Regions from separate parts of the Homo sapiens genome. Here all the other regions are linked to region 1. The links are contacts of gene promoters, found by promoter capture Hi-C in human tissues and cell types (Jung and others, 2019). All regions are on one chromosome and are shown on one strand. Each heading gives the region's core, a stretch centred on a gene start or on the middle of the fragment in contact. The rest is flanking DNA. Distances are from core to core; before and after follow the strand shown. Region 1 holds the start of SPR (sepiapterin reductase). Region 2 overlaps SFXN5 (sideroflexin 5). Region 3 overlaps SFXN5 (sideroflexin 5).

Region 1 (2,516 bases), core at 11-2,510:
TACCAAAAGCTTAAAAAACAATTAGCCAGGCGTGGTGGTGCGCACCTGTAATCCTAGCTACTCAGGAGCCTGAGGTGGAAGGATTGCTTGAGCCCAAGAATTCAAGGCTGCAGTAAACTGTGATCACACCTCTGCACTTCAGTTTGGGCCACAGAGCGAGACTCTGTCAAAAAAAAGAAAAAAGAAAAGAAAAAAGCCTTCCTCCAAGTTGTTTCTTCCTTAGAGTTGGCAATAATAGTGGAAAGGCGGTAACTTTGCTGTTTAGCCCCAGGGGAGGGATCAGCCCTGTGGGGAATTGGGCTAAGTTATCAGAGGTTACTTACTGCCCTTGCTAAACTCTAAAGAGATTCGTTTTTTAAAAACTGACACACAATATTTGGACATATGTATATACACAATGGAATACCACTCGGCCACTAAGAAGGAAACCATGAAGAGATTCCTTTTTAATATATGTAGCTGCATGCCAACTTGTCTCACGTTCCTCCTCTCCTAGAAAAAAAAAAATGTGGATTTTTCTGAAGCACCTGCCTGGAGGTACAGACAGATGATTGCGCAAACTTGAAGCTGAAAGTGGATGGAATTGCTGCCAGGGAGACTGTAGCATGAGCAGGAGCAGAATCCTGGGGAACACACTTTTAGGGACAGGAGTCAGAAATCTCAGAGAAGCAGGGGTTACTGGTGGGATCACGGAGCTGCTCAGGGCCTAGTAAAAGGGAAAGGTTTTAATATCATTTGGAGCCACTGTGGTTCTCCCAGAGGAAGCTCCTGTCATCCAGAGAGCGGTGAGCTCCCAAACAAGCAGAGACTTCAATTCCTAAACAGGCATAAGCTTCATTCAGGGTGTTCACTGGCCACGACCAGGGACGCCCAGCACCCAGTGCAGGGCCTGCCCTGGAAGAGGTCAGTAGTGCAAAGTTAGGGCTGGAACTGGGAGGAAATTCGAGCATGCGTCCCAGCCGGAGGCTGAGCTTGCGGGCGAAGAACACGGCAGCGCTGGGAACCGGGCTAGGGCTTTCCGTGTGGGCCGCGCCTGCCGGCCCTCTCTGTTGTCCCACTTGGCACGGACTGGGCTACCGCCACGGTTTGACTTCCGCCACCAGCAACCAAGGGAACCAGATCCCAAGGGAACCAGCACCCCTGGGCGCTCGCGGCCCGAAGCCTGAGGTTCCCGCCCCGCCCCGGCAGGGCGGCCCCGCCGACACCCGTAGCGGTCCCGCCCCCCGCGGCCGCACCGCCTCCTGCCTGGTCTCGGGTGCCAGCGCCGCCGGCGGAGAACAGGAGCATGGAGGGCGGGCTGGGGCGTGCTGTGTGCTTGCTGACCGGGGCCTCCCGCGGCTTCGGCCGGACGCTGGCCCCGCTCCTGGCCTCGCTGCTGTCGCCCGGCTCCGTGCTTGTCCTTAGCGCCCGCAACGACGAGGCACTGCGCCAGCTGGAGGCCGAGCTGGGCGCCGAGCGGTCTGGCCTGCGCGTGGTGCGGGTGCCCGCCGACCTGGGCGCCGAGGCCGGCTTGCAGCAGCTGCTCGGCGCCCTGCGCGAGCTCCCCCGGCCCAAGGGGCTGCAGCGACTGCTGCTTATCAACAACGCGGGTAAGACCCCGGGGCTGGAGCGGACTCCCCATGTGAGCGCCCACTTCCTCCACCGCTGGGGAATTTAAGGGCTACTCCTAGGGGTCAGATAGGACGCCTAGAAATCTAAAGCCCTAGTTGTTCCAGCTTGAGTAGCAAGTGGAGGCGAGGTGTACAGGAAGACTCGGTGCCGTCGGGACAACAGTCTGCCCCCACTTCCTGGAAAATTGGCCAGCCGGGTTTTCCAAAGCGCCTGTAGAACTTTCCCGAGCCCCTTGCTCTGCGCCCTCTGGCGGAGGCCTGAGTCAGGGCTTGGAGTCTCCAAACAAGTAAACTCTCTGCTTCTCCAAAGGACCGCTAGAGCTTTCCTTCAGCCCCACGGCAAGGCAGGTGCCTTCTCATTCTGCAGCTTGGGATGGCTAGGTTCCCCAGCTGTGTCTTTCCGCAGAGCTGGGGAAGAGAGAAGCCTCTTCAGAAGCGCTAGGCAGCTTCCTCCTCTAGGTCTGCATGGGAAGAGGATATCTGGAGGAACTTGGGAGGGCTGGGGAAGAAGAAAGCCCCGCCTGCACTGAGTTACTCCTAAGGGTTGGTTTTTCAGGCTCTCTTGGGGATGTGTCCAAAGGCTTCGTGGACCTGAGTGACTCCACTCAAGTGAACAACTACTGGGCACTGAACTTGACCTCCATGCTCTGCCTGACTTCCAGCGTCCTGAAGGCCTTCCCGGACAGTCCTGGCCTCAACAGAACCGTGGTTAACATCTCGTCCCTCTGTGCCCTGCAACCTTTCAAAGGCTGGGCGCTGTACTGTGCAGGAAAGGCTGCTCGTGATATGCTGTTCCAGGTCCTGGCGCTGGAGGAACCTAATGTGAGGGTGCTGAACTATGCCCCAGGTAGGTGGGAAGTCCTGCCGTCCCTGTCCTCCAGAACCCACTGGTGCGCCTCTGGGGGC
Region 2 (2,516 bases), core at 12-2,511, 130 kb after region 1:
CTCCCCAGAGGTAAACAGTATCACGAAGCCGGTGCTTATTGTTCCCATGGATGTTTTTAAGGATGCATTAAAAATGTACTCATAAACTATATATAATATTGCTTTGCATATTTTTTAACATTATATAAATGACAGAGAGCATTACTACTCTGCTACTATTTTTTCATTCAACATTGTTTTTGAGATTTATCCATATTCATAAATGTCGCCCTTGCTCATTGTTTTCTTTCCTGTGTTAAGTATTCCACTGCGTGACTAAGCCATGACTGATTCATTTTCTTGTTGATGGAATTTCAGCGGTTTCCAATTTTTTGCTATCATAAACATTGCTGCAAATATTTTCTTTTCATATTTAAATGTCCTTTTGCATATAAGGTGATGTAGAGATCTGACTTTCTTTCTTTTCCACATAGGTAGCCAGCTGTCCCAGCACCATATAATACTATTAGATGGTTTGTCCTTTTTCTCCACTGATTTGTAATGCCACCTTAGTCAAATCTTAAATTTCCATATGGGCATGTCTCCAGGTTCTCTGTTCTGTTCCACTGACATATTTGCTTATCACTGTACCAAAACCAAGTTGTCTTATAATATTTGGTAGGGTGAGTCCTCTCCCACCACCTTATTCTTGAAAATTGTCTTCACTATTCTTATCCCCTAGCTTGTATTCATGTAACTTTTCATAGCAACCTGTCAAGTTCCATAACAAATCCTGATGAGATTATGACTGAAATTACATTGAATATAGATTTTAATTTGAAGAAAACAAAATGATACAGCTCTCCACTTATTTAGATCTCCAATGTCCTTCAATAAAGTTGTATATGTTTCTCTATTAAGGTCTTGAATATTGTTTCTTGAATTTATTTTTATATCCCTTATTGTCTAAAATACTATTGTAAATGACATCTTTTATAAAAATCATATTCTAGATGTTTGTTTTAGGTTTATAGGCATACAAAATTTTTTTGTATACTTGTCTTACATCCAGAAATCTTTTAAAATAGTTCCAATAGTTTGTCTATTCTCATAAATGTTTTTCTTTCTTTCTTTCCAACTCTAATACCATTGTTTATTTTTTCATGTCTTACTGCACTTGCTAGTCTTCCAGGAAAATGTTAGATAGAAGCAACATTATCAGTCATTCTTACCCTGTCCAACACATTAAGAATTTACCTTTGTTTCATCTTTAAGACAGGTGCTTGCTATGGTTGGTTTAAATCATTTTTTATAGACACTATCAAGTTAAGAAAGTTCCTTCTAGACCTAATCTGTTGTTTTTATCATAATAATTACCGTAAATTGAGTTATGTTTTATTTTATCAAATACTTTTTCTGTATTTACTGGGGAAATCATGTTTCTCCTTCAGTTTCTCAGTGTGATCAACTAATATTAATACATTCTCTAATGTTATCATATTTGGTAAAAAGCATTTCGTTATGATGTACTTTGATGCATTGCTGGAATCAGATTGCTATTATTTTATTTCATAATTTTTACATGTAATTTCATAAGTGATATTGGCTTATACTTTTTCTTTCTTATACTTACTTTGGTATTGGTCTCAAAGTGCCTCATAAATGAACTGGGAAGATTTCCTTTTTTTCCTCTCTCTTTTTTGTTTTTTTTCAATAGAGACAAGGTCTTGCTATGTTGCCCAGGCTGGTCTCAAACTCCTGGGCTCAAGCGATTCCCCTGCCTTGGCCTCTCAAAGTGCTGGGATAAGAGGCATGAACCACTATGCCTGGCACTTTTTTTGCTTTTGAAAGCTTTATAAAATTAAGTTCAGCTCTTCCTTTGGGAACAGTCACCTGGAAGATCAGAGCCCAGTGATAATTTTGGGTTTGTTTGTTCTTTGGTGCAAATATTTTAAACTGCAAATTAAATTTCCTTTTATTTATAGGTCTATTCAGATTTTAAGGCCAGGTGTGATGGCTCATGCCTGTAATCCCAACACTTTGGGAGGCTGAGGCAGGAGGGATCACTTGATCCCAGGAATTTGAGGCTGCAGTGGGCCATGATCGCATCACTGCACTCCAGCCTGGGAGACAGAGTGATACCTTGTCTCCAAAAAAGAAAAAAAAAAAAAAGACTCTATATTTCGTCTTTCTAGGCAGTTTTGGTAAGCTGTATTTTCCCAGAAATGTATTCATTTCTTCTAAGTCTTTAAATGTATTGCCTTGAGTTGTTCAATGCATTCTGATCTTTTATTCTGCTACTGCATCTATAATTATTGTACTTCTTATTGCTAATGCTGTTTATTTGTATCTTCTCTCTTTTGTCTTGATCAATCTTTCTAGAAATGTCTATTTAATTAGTCCTTCTATAGAACCTAGGAATTTACCCTGAAGATATATTCCAACAATATCACAAGATTACCATTTTGGCATTATTCATGATGGCAAAGTATTACAAATAATCTAATGTAAGAAATTATCTAAATAAATCATGGTACTTCCACTTAGTAGAATACTATATAGCTGTAAAAAAGTAATAATGAGGAAGATCTCTATAA
Region 3 (2,516 bases), core at 8-2,507, 66 kb after region 1:
CTGTCCATTTTCTGTACATTCTAAGTATACGCTTTGAGTCCTAAGTCCAGGCTATATCCTGACCCTCTAAGGCTGCCTCCTCCAGGAAGCCTCCCTTGATATTCTTAGACCAAATCCATTGCTGCTGCCTCTGTGTCCCCAGCACATGCTTTTATCTCCATCCCATCCCCAGGCACAGGCTCATTTGCACTCTAAACAGGGGTGACTACAGTAGTCCCCTGCCCCACCCCACTGTGAGCCGCTCCAGGCAGCTCGGTATCCCTATGCCTTGTGCACAGTAGGTCCTCAGTAACAGCTGAGTTAAGTGACACTGAAGTGCCTCGTGGGCAAGAATCCTGTCTTACACTTTTCCGGCTCCCCTGTGCTATGTGTTCCCAGCAAGTGCTCAGACCACACCCCGCCCCCTACCATTTTGGAGCTTTGCACCATTCCTGGGTGCCCTCTGGTGGACCAATCTCAGAATCATTCTCTGTCCTCTGTCTTCTAAGCTTTGAGGCCTCAGTTTCCCCACATGTATGATGGGAAGATTTTCTAAGATCTCCTGGTGCCACGAGGATTATATCACAAAATGGATAGGATGGCCCTTTGGAGGCTTAGAAAACCTGCGTGATGCTGTGTAAAGAGGACAGCACCCAGGGTCCCCACACTCAGCCCCAGCCCCACTCACTAAGCTCACAGGGCTGAGCCTTGCTGCAGGCCAGGCATGTTCCACTTTGCATGTATTAATGCCTTTAATGGAAGCTCTGCACAACCAAGCCTTCTCCCTCCCTATCCTGGATTCAGCTAGGTGTCCTGGAAGGTCCTGGAAAAAAGAACTGTGGGGGAAAGGCTGTCAGGCAGCCCCGCCGAGGCCTGCCACCCGGGCATGTGTACATGTTCTTGCGTGCACGTGTATGTGTGCGAGCCTGTGTGCACGCGCAGGTTTGGGGTGGGGGTGTGGGGAACAGGCAAAATGACAGGTGGCGTTGGCGTTCCTGGGCTCTGAGCGGCTTTGCCATTCCCATCCATCCCTCCTGGGGGGTCCTGTGGGCAAACTCCAAGAAAGCAGCGGGCGGGGAGGCAGCAGATTTCTGACGGCAAAAATAGCCCACTTTAGAGTTCAGTAGGGACTGATTAAACCAGTAAATGAGAAAAACCCCAAACAAACATCTCCAAGCAAAGTAGGAGATGGATTTGAGACTGGAGGGAAGGAGGCCCCTGCTCTGGGAGACGCTGAATGCTGCTGTAGACTCAGGAGGGATGCAATGTGCCCTAGACATTGTCTCTGGCCTCGCATCAACCCTGGAAGAGTGGGAGAAGCAGGGACCAACAAAGTCAAGGTGAACCCAGATGAGCCACGCTCTGTACTAGGTGTTGATAAAGGGCACCAGTTCTCTGCCACAGGGACACCTTGTGTCATGGAAGGGAGAAAGGTCTACTGTCCTAAGGGGGAAGATGGAACACAGAAAACACACCACCAGAGCCTACACAGGTGAGGTGAGACAGATCTTAGTGGGGAAGATCAGGGAGGACTTCCTGGAGGAGGAGCCATTTCTAGACCAGCTTGAATGTGGACTCACATTCCAGCTTATTCCCAGCTCTTCTCCATTCTTGGTTGGGGGTCCCAATACTTTCTCAAAGAAAGATAAGCTGGGGGGACTTTGCTTCTGGTGGCTCACAGCTGTTTAGCCAGGCTGGTTCATCAAAACCACCATTTTCATCAGGGCTGGTAAGAGGGTAGAGATAGTGGAGGTTCTGGTACCCACTGAGGGTACCCACATTTTTGCCCATACAGGGAGGGTATGCCTCTCTGTTTCTTAACCCTGAAAGCTGTAAGTGGGGAGGCAGGAAGGAGTATGGGGTGGCTGAGGTTGGCCTTCCTGCCTCGTCTACCACATGGGTGTGGCCTGTAAGAGCCACCCTCTGAGGCCAGGACGAGACAAGGCTCATAACGGGCTGAGGACATCGGGGGAAGGCTTTAGACTTCCTCAGAACATGGCTTCTAATCCCCAGAACCCTCTAGAGCTGAGGTGAGTAGGGGCTCAGCTGAGAGGGAGGGACATGGGGAGTTCCCAGGGCTGACATGGGAGGCTCAGGGCAGGAAGCCCTGGCCCTGGGAGACTCTTAGGCTGTCTTTTCTTCTAGTTGAGGTGCTTGGCAAAAGCTAGAAGGGGCAGGAACAGGTGGTGGGGGTACCGGGGGAGGTCAGTTCTCTGCTGAGGCTTCAGGGAAGGCAGACGGCAGATGCCAACAAACCAACAAGACAGCCAGGAGGGAACAGGCCCACAGGAAACAAGCCTCCTGGCCAGTGAACCTCACTCCTGCCCCCAGGGGCCCCTGCAACAGCTGAGGCAGGGAAGAGACACACGCTCATAGCCGCCAGCCCCTACAAGGGCGCCCCAGGGCCCTCTCCCCTGCCCGCAGCCCCAGCCAGGAAGCACACTACCCAATCTCTCATCCCCACCCCAGCCCCCACAGCTGCAGGGAGGACAAAGGAGCCAGTGAGGGTCTAGGGGCCATAAGACACGTTCCCAGGA

Evidence for each region. The method cuts DNA at HindIII sites, captures the fragments that hold promoters and counts their contacts. A contact is called where the count stands out against the background at its distance.
Region 2: a contact is called between a fragment that was not itself captured here and the fragment with the promoter of SPR in region 1, in 10 of the 25 tissues and cell types used here (IMR-90 fibroblasts, bladder, heart left ventricle and 7 more).
Region 3: a fragment that was not itself captured here is called in contact with the fragment with the promoter of SPR in region 1 in 7 of the 25 tissues and cell types used here (heart left ventricle, heart right ventricle, liver and 4 more).

Annotation. Positions count from the first base shown.
Region 1 is chr2:72,886,148-72,888,663 of GRCh38, forward strand. It overlaps SPR (sepiapterin reductase), which reads left to right and starts at 1,261. Exons shown (of 3, transcript NM_003124.5): 1 at 1,261-1,589; 2 at 2,167-2,457. The coding sequence starts at 1,286. RefSeq lists silencers at 1,113-1,502, 2,141-2,315. The HindIII fragment of the contact is 16,003 bases long and covers 421-2,516 here.
Region 2 is chr2:73,013,869-73,016,384 of GRCh38, forward strand. All of the region lies in intron 6 of SFXN5 (sideroflexin 5), which reads right to left. LOC107985897 (a long non-coding RNA gene) reads right to left here. Exons shown (of 2, transcript XR_001739535.2): 1 at 1-2,516. Among named protein-coding and RNA genes, the nearest start is that of SFXN5, 57 kb to the right of the region's middle. The HindIII fragment of the contact is 6,383 bases long and covers 1-2,516 here.
Region 3 is chr2:72,952,200-72,954,715 of GRCh38, forward strand. All of the region lies in intron 13 of SFXN5 (sideroflexin 5), which reads right to left. Among named protein-coding and RNA genes, the nearest start is that of EMX1, 36 kb to the left of the region's middle. RefSeq lists an enhancer at 1-396 and a silencer at 1,790-1,959. The HindIII fragment of the contact is 8,875 bases long and covers 1-2,516 here.